Regions from separate parts of the Homo sapiens genome. Here region 1 is linked to region 2. Evidence: promoter capture Hi-C in human tissues and cell types (Jung and others, 2019). All regions are on one chromosome and are shown on one strand. Each heading gives the region's core, a stretch centred on a gene start or on the middle of the fragment in contact. The rest is flanking DNA. Distances are from core to core; before and after follow the strand shown. Region 1 holds the start of KPNA3 (karyopherin subunit alpha 3). Region 2 overlaps DLEU1 (deleted in lymphocytic leukemia 1).

Region 1 (4,867 bases), core at 2,015-4,514, 730 kb before region 2:
CTCTCTCTACTCAAATCCCCTGGCATAACTCTATCCTTTTATTTTCTTTAACAAGTATGGATCTTATTCTTGCACCTAACATCTTGTGTATCAGCTGCTTCTATAATTTATAACATGTTTTAGTTTTTGTCTATCCTATATGTGAAAAAATAGGCATCATAGCTTATCAAAGTGCATCTCACTGTTTTGGAACAGCCTGATAACCACAACTACTCAGTTACAGAGCTAAGTTGTACTGTTTCTAATGGACAAGACTAAGCATGGTTATCTACTCTTAGATATGCCTAAATCCCCAATAAAGGCCCTTCATCAGATTTGACCCCAGTTTACCCTTTAGTCTCTCTCTCTCCTACATTTCTCTCAGGACTCTTCAATTACTGCTCCCTCTAGTCTGGAATGCCCCTTTCTTCCACCAGCCTTCTCCCGCCCTTTGCCTGGCCACCTTTCTTTCATCCTTCACAATCAGCTCACTCCCATTCATCCATTAGAAATCAACCAGAGTATCTTCCCTTTCTGCTCACCTCCAAGTAGTTTTTTTGGCATGCATTTTCGGAATACTATACTGTAACAATTGTTGTTCTGCATTGTAATTATCACCCCCACTGGACTGTAAACTCCCTGAAGTACAGACTGCATCTTATTCCTTATCCCCAAGACCTAACATTGATAGATACCCAATAGACAATTAGTGAATAAATAATACCCATATCCACTGAGTGACATGCACAGGCTACATAAGCACACTGAGGTTTTTTATCTAAAGTTCCAGCTGGGTGTGACGACTAGCATCTGTAGTTCGAACACTTTGGAAGGCCGAGGCGGGAGAATCACTGGAGCCCAGGAGTTCAAGACAAGCTTGGGCAACAAAGCGAGACCCCGTCTCTAAAAAAGATTAAAAAATTAGCCAGGTGTGGTGGTGTCCGCCTGTAGTCCCAGCTACTTGGGAGGCCATGGTGGGAAGATTCCTTGAACCTAGAAGTTTGAGCTTGCAGCTGAGCTATGAGTGCCTGAGCACTCCAACTTGGGTAAAGGAGCAAGACTCCGTCTCAAAAAATACTTTACTCATGTAAAGTGGGGATAATGCCACACTTCATATACTTGTTACACAGATTAAATAAGGTATCATGAAGCTCGTAACAGTGTCTGCCACATTAGAACTACCATTTGAATGTCTATTTCATGTTTTAGTTACACTATAGAATCCCGAGAAATGTAATGTTGTGACCAATACCAGGCTGAATGGCTTAGCAACCATGCTCTTTTTCATGCATCTAAAAGTCACGGGTTACATTCTTATCAGCAAATATTTGTTGTGTACCTATTATGTGCAGGAGTCCTTACTAAGTATCACTGAGCTACCAGAACACAATAGAGGTAAACAATGAAACAAAAACCTGTACCAATATCCGAGAGAAGAATGTTACTGGTTTTTCTGTACAAACAATGAGTATTTTTCAATAAATTTTTATTTGGAACAGGATAGGCTTCAAGAAAAATTCCTAATGGGAAAAGTTCAAAATTAACACTTGTCATCAAGTGGACCAATAACAGGAGGCAGTTCCAAAATTTCTTGTTCCTATTCCCAAGTTTTACTTTCGCTTAGATGTATTTCTTACAAAGGGTATTTAACCATGACCAGGAAAGAATATATGATCTTTATTTGACTCATTTAAATGGGAATTCCACGGATATCTCCCTAGGTTCTTTCCTACTAGTATTTAATTTTGTAGCTCTGAAAAACGGCCTGAGTTTGTCTGTTTCTCTACAAAATAGAACACTGAATGGTATATTTACCCCACAACCTTCCTTAAGACAGGATAAAACACACCTCTTAATCACACTAGCTTATCAAAAATTACAAAACTGCAAATCATGTCGCCTAGTATTAGCAAAGAAGGCTGCGGCCTTAAAACCATTTTCCCCCTAACAAATCCAAAGGTCACGGTCCCAGTGAAGTTTGTGCATTATACTTACTGTTTTCAGTAGCTGCAGAGAGACCTCTAGCGCTGCCTCAATAAGCCGAGTTTGCAAATAGTACCTGCTAATGTCACCTTAATGAGACAATGGCAACATGCTGAGTAGCAACTAACTGAGTGACCGCGATGAATGTTTAGTTTTGCAACCACTTGGAAATTCTACTAGCTTGGAGCAAGAGGTATGTAAGAGAATTATGAACCTGTGTATCCAATTTATTTTAGTAAAACGTGTCAAAGAAATTATCACCCTATGCACACCCCACTCCAAGAAAGGCTAAGAAAACAAGTCCTATGAGCGGAGGTCGGAGCAACCTCTTTTCCGAAGCCTGAACACAATAGATGGCAAACTATTGTCCACCTTCAGCTCGCTCCAAATGCCAGCAGTTGCAGGAGTATGAGCTGCAACAGCTCGGCACGACTAGTCCAAAGACGAGCACTGGAATATAAGAAAATGGTCCTGGCGCATCCTACCCTCCCCCATCGATCACCCTCAAACAAGTCAGTTACCCGGCTGGTCCCCACCCCCCTCTGCGGGCCGCCACCGCCCGCCTGGGCCCGGCTCGCAGAAGGTAGGAGCCCGGACCGGCAGAGCCGAGGCTCCATGTGAGCCGCGCGGGAGGCGCAGAGGGGGCTGCACCGGACGGAAGGTTGCACCGGTGGCGGGCGCAAGCAGCGGCCGCCCCCTCGGCTGTGCGGTCGGAGGGCCCGGGCGGCAGCATCCCCGTTCATCCGGGCGGCCCTGGCCCGCGGACCCCGCCTCAGCTCCACATCCCCTCCTCGCCGACACCAGGCCGCGCCCGCGTGACGGGGCCGAAAACGCCGGCATTTCCCGGTCGCCGCGCCGGCAGCTCCGGGGGGTGACTGCAGCCCGGCCGGCGTCTCGCCGCCCGCTCCGCCCAGCCCGGGGCCGCGGTGACGGGAGGCGGCGGCCAACTCCGGCCGACCACAAGCCGACGAGAACCAGCCCGGCGCCGGCCCCCCGCCCCTCCCCGCGTCGCCGGGCCGGCGCGGCCAGGCGGGCCCAGACCGCGGAAGCACACTCACTTCCACATCGCGGCCCTTGTTCTTGAAGCTCTTGATGCGGTGGTTCTCCAAGCTGGGGTTCTCGGCCATGGCTGCGCGCGGCTCCGGCGGCGGCTACTCCTGCGGCTGCGGCGGCGGCGGCGGCGAATCTTGGAGCGGGAGGGGGAGGAGGGGGAGAGCGGGAGGGGGGAGGGGAGAGAAGAGCACGTTCTGTGACGCCTCCGAGCGCGAGGTGGCAGTAGCGCCGGGGGAGGCGCGGGCCGACTGCCGGGCCGGGTGGGGCGGGAACGGTGCTGAGAGCGGCGCGCGGCCGCGGAGGCTGGCGACACGTGACCGGGGGCGGTGACCGGCTTGGGCGTTCGCCGGGCTATACGTGCCCGTTGGTTCTCGGGATGACCCTGCCCTCTTCCCCTGCAAGGGCTCTCCACAACCCCTCGGTGCTGCAAGTTTTGTGCCAGAAATGGAGCCGGACCTGGCGACTTTTACTGCCCCTCAGGCGCGGGGCGGCGGTCGTCAACTACAGTTCCCATCATGCCACGATCCGCCTGGAGTAATTCTCCACGCCTAGTGAGAACGAGGAGAATGCCGGGACCCTTCCGCGCGCGGCTCTTTGCGCGCCGCGCTCATGTTGCTGGGCACAAAGCTCCGCCCCCACAAGGCCGCCTCTGGGCGGGGAAGAGCGGGGGAGCGTCCCTGGCACCTTGCGCCCTATCAGGAGGAAGAGGGCGGGCCTTCCTGGGAGCGCACCTCGCTGCCTGTAGCTAGAAGATCAGAAAAGGAACAACCGCGAGTGCTTTGCAGTCTCGCTTTTTTGGGGGTCTTCTCAAATAGCCACCTTCATTCGCTCTTCCCATGCTCTGCTTCAGTTTTATAAATAGCATTTCTACCTGACATGTACATGTGTATGTATGTGATACGAGTGTTTATATGCGTTACCTAGGTGCCCGCGCGGAAATTCAGCTCAATGAGAGCAGGTACTTTGGTTGAATTACTGCTGAATCTCTAGTGTCAAAACAATGCCTACCACGTCGTAGATACGCAATACTTGTTGAACTGGCGCTTTAGTGTCGCCCAGTTTCTTCATCATCCTTCCAAGCCCGGTTCTGCAACCTTCACTCTGGCAGTCCCTGTATTTACATGCCCCCCAACACTTCTTGTTCTACCACCACACAGAATCTTAGCCTTCAGGCAGCAGCCCAGCCCTGGTCCGCAGACTCTCCTGTGTAGCACTCCCACTCCCTCTGGGGGCATCGAAAGAATGAAAGAGGGAAATTTGGATGGATTACACTGATAAAGAGCTGCTTTCGGCCGGGTGTGGTGGCTCACGCCTGTAATCCCAGCACTTTGGGAGGCCGAGGAGGGCAGATCACAAGGTCAAGAGACCGAGACCAGTCTGGCCAACCATGGCCCGCATGGTGAAACCCCTTCTTTACTAAATATACAAAAATTAGCTGGGCGTGGTGGCGCATGCCTGGAGGCTGAGGCAGGAGAATCGCTTGAACCCGGTAGGCGGAGGTTGCAGCGAGCCGAGATGGCGCCACTGCACTCCAGCCTGGCGACAGAGGGAGACTCTGTCTCAAACAAAACAACAAAAACAACAACAACAAAAACAAAAAGCTACTTTCTGGAGCAGGTGGGCTTCATTTGCTTGTATGTTAATTTTCAGAATCTATGGTAGACATGAGCAGGTATGTAATGTTGTAGTACTTATAATTGAACTGAGGTCAAAAGTTGGTAGGACTATACCATGAAGAGATCAAAAAGGACAATCTTTAAAGCGAAAGGGCCTTGGCTGGGCGCGGTGGCTCATGCCTGTAATCCCAGCACTTTGGGAGGTCGAGGTGGGTGGATCACAAGGTCAGGAGGTC
Region 2 (5,209 bases), core at 1,756-4,255:
TCAGACAGATATGCTGACTCCCAAGATGGCTGTATCTTGAGTTAATGGCACATAATTCAGCCCCTCACTGAGGCTTTCCTGGAAATCTAACCATGGACTGTATGTGCACTCAGTCCTGGAACTCCCTGTCTGAAAGTGCAAAAATGCCTGTTCTGGTGTTTGTTCATTTGCAGTAGTTGCATGAGCCTCTGTCCTCAGGGTCTCTGTTTCCTTCTTCGTGTCCTGTGTCTCCATACTGCTTCTCTTCAAGTGCCATCTGTGAGACTCAGGGGGATCCTCCGACATTTACGGTCCTTAGCAGTAGGGTTTTCCCTAGTGGTAAATGGGAGAGAATCCTGAATTCTAGTCACCAGGAAGCAGAAGTACGGCTGAGAGACACTGAAACTCAAGGTCAAGTCTTGCAGGCAAGGAAGAGAATAGCAAGTTGAGCCCTGGCTGATTCAGAGTCCTTTATACTATTGAGATGTACACATTTTTTGGATTATATCACCTGAAAAAGCATGAGGTTTCCACTGTGACATTTATTTTCTTGGCCTTGAAACCCAGAATATTGAGAATGTGGCTGTTAACCAAAGCCTCCTGAACTGAAGGAGGTCTTTTCTTGTATAGTGTGTGAAAGCAGAGAGGAGCTGTTCATTGTAGCCTTTGAAGATCACCTCTTAATTTCCCCGTGTTCTTATTCTCTAACGATGTGCTTCACTCTTCTTTGGAGGGGAGCCTCCTCTGTGCTGTTTGAGATCAGTACTTCCTACTGCCTTTATGATGGCCTTAGAGAAGTTCTCCTGCCGGATCTAGATGGATCTCACATTATGAAAGGAGCAACAGAACCCTGTAGGAAGGCCAGGGCTCTATTTATTTACATTTGAGGTGGTGGCTGTGGAGGAGGAAGATTCAAAACACACAAAGTTATGTATGAATTATGATGTGATATGTTCAGCTTTTAGCTCTCTACTGGGCAGCACTTCAAAGTTTGTTTCAATGGATTTTCTTCAGGGGGCCACACCAGCATCCTCCAAATGGGAGTCTGAGGATGCCTCCCATCTTACATCACTCACAGATCACTGCCAGAGCAACAAGAAACAAAAACCCTAACAATTTACAGTTCACCCTCTTTGATGTAAGGTGCAGTGGGGACACGAAGCCCAGGCCTCTGAGTAGGATGTAGTTGGATTGGCACAGAAAGCAAACTCTTCTTTCTTTCCTCAAGAAGAAGGAAAACTACACTAGCAAATTAAAAATATTAGCAAGCTTCTACTCAGATACATTTAGCTTGATTTGGGTCAAGGTGGGGGAAGGGAAGAGTAAGGAATTCAAACAGCCTGTGCCAAGGATTTGCTGAACATGTTCTTTAAAAAAATGCTGACAGGCATTAAATTAAGTAACAACTGCAGATTACACAAGGGTAAACACTGCTGCTAATGTTTGACTAAAAGCTAACTGAGGGCTCTAAGTGATTCCAGTTAATTTATAGATCACGCCAGTAACAGCCCCAGGGGACTGGGGCTGCTGAAGGTGGGAGATTCGTTTTATAGCCAGAAGCCACGTTTTTAATTTTAGAAAAAGAAAACTAAAGCTGTAGGAACTGATTTAGAAACTTCAGAGGGAGAGAGAGAAAAAGAGAGGGAGAGAGGGGAGGGAGGAAAGACAGAAAGAGAGAGAGAGGTGTAGGGGGAATGAATTGAATGTCTTTGCTGGGCTTGGGATAGAAAAGTGGCTAAGAAAAAAACAGAAAGAAACACATCTAACTTTAAATAACTCTTCCAGGAGGAGAGAGCATGCTAGGATCAAGAGTTAACTATTCCTATGGGGTAGGGGTCTTAAATTCAAGACTGTGCCAGGGGCTCCATCGACCCCAAATGAAAGAGTATAAACTGCCTCGTGTTATCAAATAAGATTAATTTAATTTTGCAACATTTAGCTTCAAGTTAAAATTTAAATATATGGTTGTACAGTAAATGATTTTAAAATTATAGTCCCTCCAACATAACCTCTCTTGACACAATTTTAAATGCTTTTTAAATGGGATGTGTAGTTTGTTTAGTACATAGCAGTTGATGTCCTTAGATTGGGTTTTCATCATGTATTTTAATTTACTAAGGCTGGGATGACCATAATTGCCTAACAATTCAATGCAACGGAATGGGCTACTTCAGCACTTTTTACTGCATTTTTCCATATAATATCTAAAAGTCACCCTGCGACACACACAGGCTATGTTTATGAAAGCAAGGCTTTAACCCTTGCATTTTTCTAGGTTTGAATAATTTTCTTAATAAGGCAAAAAATGTTTGCAAATTTGCACCATGATGTCAGCACGTCATTGTGAAGGAGGTAGGACTGGCCTGCACTTCAGGGATGAAGTCCTGTCCATTTGGTGTTTGCAAACCTTGAGGATCCTCGTGGAAGCCCAGTAACTCCAAAGACCCTTGTTTCTTCCCAAGTTTCTGTCTCCTTTCAGGCAAGGGCAAACATATCTGCTTTGCTAGGCCAGTCTTTAGTTTAATCTTAGAGTCTCAAAAACAAACAGTGGTAAGGTCTGGATAACATAGTTATCCATTTCTGCGTTTGCCCAGATGAAACTTTAAAAATGCTAAAAATACCAGGGCAATTTCTGTTAATTGCTCTGGATTATCAGGCTGGAGAAATGGATTGGGCGGGTATATTCTAGTCTATTAAATCTTGTGCTAACTTTACTGATATCGTCTCTTGGACTCTGGCAGCCTATTCTGCTTTTCAGCATTCTCCAGGGATGCTCCCAGCGTGTTGGAAACCAAACTCCCTGTCTGCAGAGACAGCCCTAACACCAAAACTTTTGCTTTACTAGAGAAGCCAGAAGAGAAAAATAATGCTGTTGCATCCTCTCTGACTCAGTTGACTCACTTTATGACTTTTATTGTCGGATCCCAAACTTGATGGCTGACCTGACTGAGGTCACCAGCCCCATAGGGCTATTTTAAAACTTTGAAAATCACAAGGCATTTTCAGTTCTTGCCACTTATGAGTTTGTGCAACTATTCTGATGAGTGATCCTTGAAGATACATTGCCTCGAAATATGAAGGTGTGCCAAGCTCTAGCAAAACTGAAAAAAAAAGTGTCATTTCAGAATGACCAGAATCAGTAGACATTGTTTATTACCCTTATCCTCCACACCTGATGTTAAAAACAAAGACTAGGAGCACCCATGCCTGCCAGGTCAGTTTATTTGTGAACATTGAGGAATGTCTAAAGGGGATTAAGCTTTCATGTATGGAAATGCTTTCTAATTCAAATAACCCACTGTAATTTTTTTTAAAGTGACATGAATTGATGATTGTAGATACTGTCATACTGTATGACCAAATAACATGATTATAATGATGTGGCATTTCCTTTCCTTGTCTTTAACAAAACATATGGCTTTAGGTTACATTTGTCTGGCTTTTGGTTCTTCTACTTTAACTTGAAAGATGAAATTTATGCAATTTCTCAAGATCCCGAGTCACAAAGTTGGGTAATGGCAAATGGTATCCTAATAACAACAATAATAACTGGATTTTATTGTGTAGCTATTCAGTGACTGCTCTAAACAACAACCCTAGAGGGCAGGTACTATTGTTATTCCATTGCAAGTTTAGGAAGTGAGGCACAGAGAGATGTCAGGCATCCACAGTCACACAGCAGTTGATGCAGGAGCGCAGATTCAGCCACACTGCCTGTTTTTATCTAGTTTTGGGCTCTGCCAGCGAGAGGAAATGTCACCACTCTTCCTTTCCAGGATCAAACTGCATATGTACACTATATTAGCTCCACCGGACTCTGTAATCTAACTTATTTTGGCATGGTAGACCCTTCATGCTAGAGTGGAGGAAGAGGGACTGGATTTATTCTCCATCGTGCCTGAAGAATCCATCTCCTCCTACAATTTAGAACACACATTTTGTTTTTTAAGATTGGACTATTTTATTGGAAAACAGTGGTAGCTACACTTAGCTTACTATTAATACATGTCAGAAATTTTTCAAAGTACTTTCCATTTCTTTTTCATTTTATTCTCACACTATGAAGTAGACAGTATTATCATCTCCATGTTATAGATGGGTATACTGAAACACAGATGAGTCATGTCAGTTACTTAAAATTGTCTAGTCAAAGGGACACAGAGATGGGCTCACGTCCAGGTAGCCAGGTCCCATAGTCCATGCTCTTAATGCTACGCTATCTTTCCAATGAGTTGATAACTAGTCAGGTGATTTGAGGGTTAGCAATAAAATGATTTGGACTGAGTTCTATCACAGCTGATGGAATTGCAGAATTGGCCATTTTATCATTAACAAGAGCAGTGCTGCCCCCCCGTTTCTGCCATTGTCATCGCAGAACATTCCAGAAGAAAGGTCCTAGGAGGATCTACAGTGGCTTGTGTTGTTCTCCCAGCATCTCAGACTGTGATATCTAACTCTTACTTCTCTTTTCTATACCTTGGTTCTCCTGCCTCAGAATAATAAGCCCAATAACAATAGCCTCTTTTTATTTGTGGTGTTTTCCAGCGTACAAAGCGATTTCTCACACTAGGTGATGTGAACCTCACTATGGTTCTGTAGGGTGTATTCAGTCTTCATTGTATTGATAAGGAAACTGTAGTTCAGAAACACCCAAAGCCACAAAATTGGTCAAAACGGGCTGGACTTAAAACCTGGCTTTATAGCTGGACGCGGTGGCTCAAGCCTGTTATCCCAGCACTTTGAGAGGCCAAGGTGGGTGGATCATGAGGTCAGGAGATTGAGACCATCCTGGCTAACATGGTGAAACCCCGTCTCTACTAAAAATACAAAAAATTAGCTGGGCGTGGTGGCGGGCACCTGTAGTTCCGCCTACTTGGGAGGGTGAGGCAGGAGAATGGCGTGAACCCGGGAGGCGGAGCTTGCAGTGAGCCGAGATCGCGCCACTGCACTCCAGCCTGGGCCACAGAGCGAGGCTCCATCTCAAAAACAAAAACAAAAACAAACAAACAAAAAACAAAACAAAAAAAACCCCTGGCTTTATAATCTCCTATCCCCTATCCCTATTCCCAAATCCTCCTGCAGTGAGAAATAACCTCTTGTAGCAGCCATTTCAGTGGGAGTCAAAACACTTCACAAAACCCTCTCCTTGTTCCTTGGAACAAGTCTCTATGAAGTGGTCCAAGCAGCCACCAGAAGTGGCTGGAGAGCACCCACATATGCTGCCCACGCT

What was found. The method cuts DNA at HindIII sites, captures the fragments that hold promoters and counts their contacts. A contact is called where the count stands out against the background at its distance.
Region 1: the fragment with the promoter of KPNA3 here is called in contact with a fragment that was not itself captured in region 2 in 1 of the 25 tissues and cell types used here (liver).

The regions. Positions count from the first base shown.
Region 1 is chr13:49,789,418-49,794,284 of GRCh38, forward strand. It overlaps KPNA3 (karyopherin subunit alpha 3), which reads right to left and starts at 3,265. Exons shown (of 17, transcript NM_002267.4): 1 at 3,021-3,265. The coding sequence starts at 3,089. RefSeq lists enhancers at 1,780-2,299, 2,304-2,965, 2,966-3,627, 3,431-3,560 and silencers at 2,421-2,990, 3,111-3,360. The HindIII fragment of the contact is 11,550 bases long and covers 308-4,867 here.
Region 2 is chr13:50,520,563-50,525,771 of GRCh38, forward strand. All of the region lies in intron 5 of DLEU1 (deleted in lymphocytic leukemia 1), which reads left to right. It overlaps DLEU1-AS1 (DLEU1 antisense RNA 1), which reads right to left. Exons shown (of 3, transcript NR_125753.1): 3 at 371-874. Among named protein-coding and RNA genes, the nearest start is that of DLEU1-AS1, 4.3 kb to the right of the region's middle. The HindIII fragment of the contact is 6,383 bases long and covers 1-5,209 here.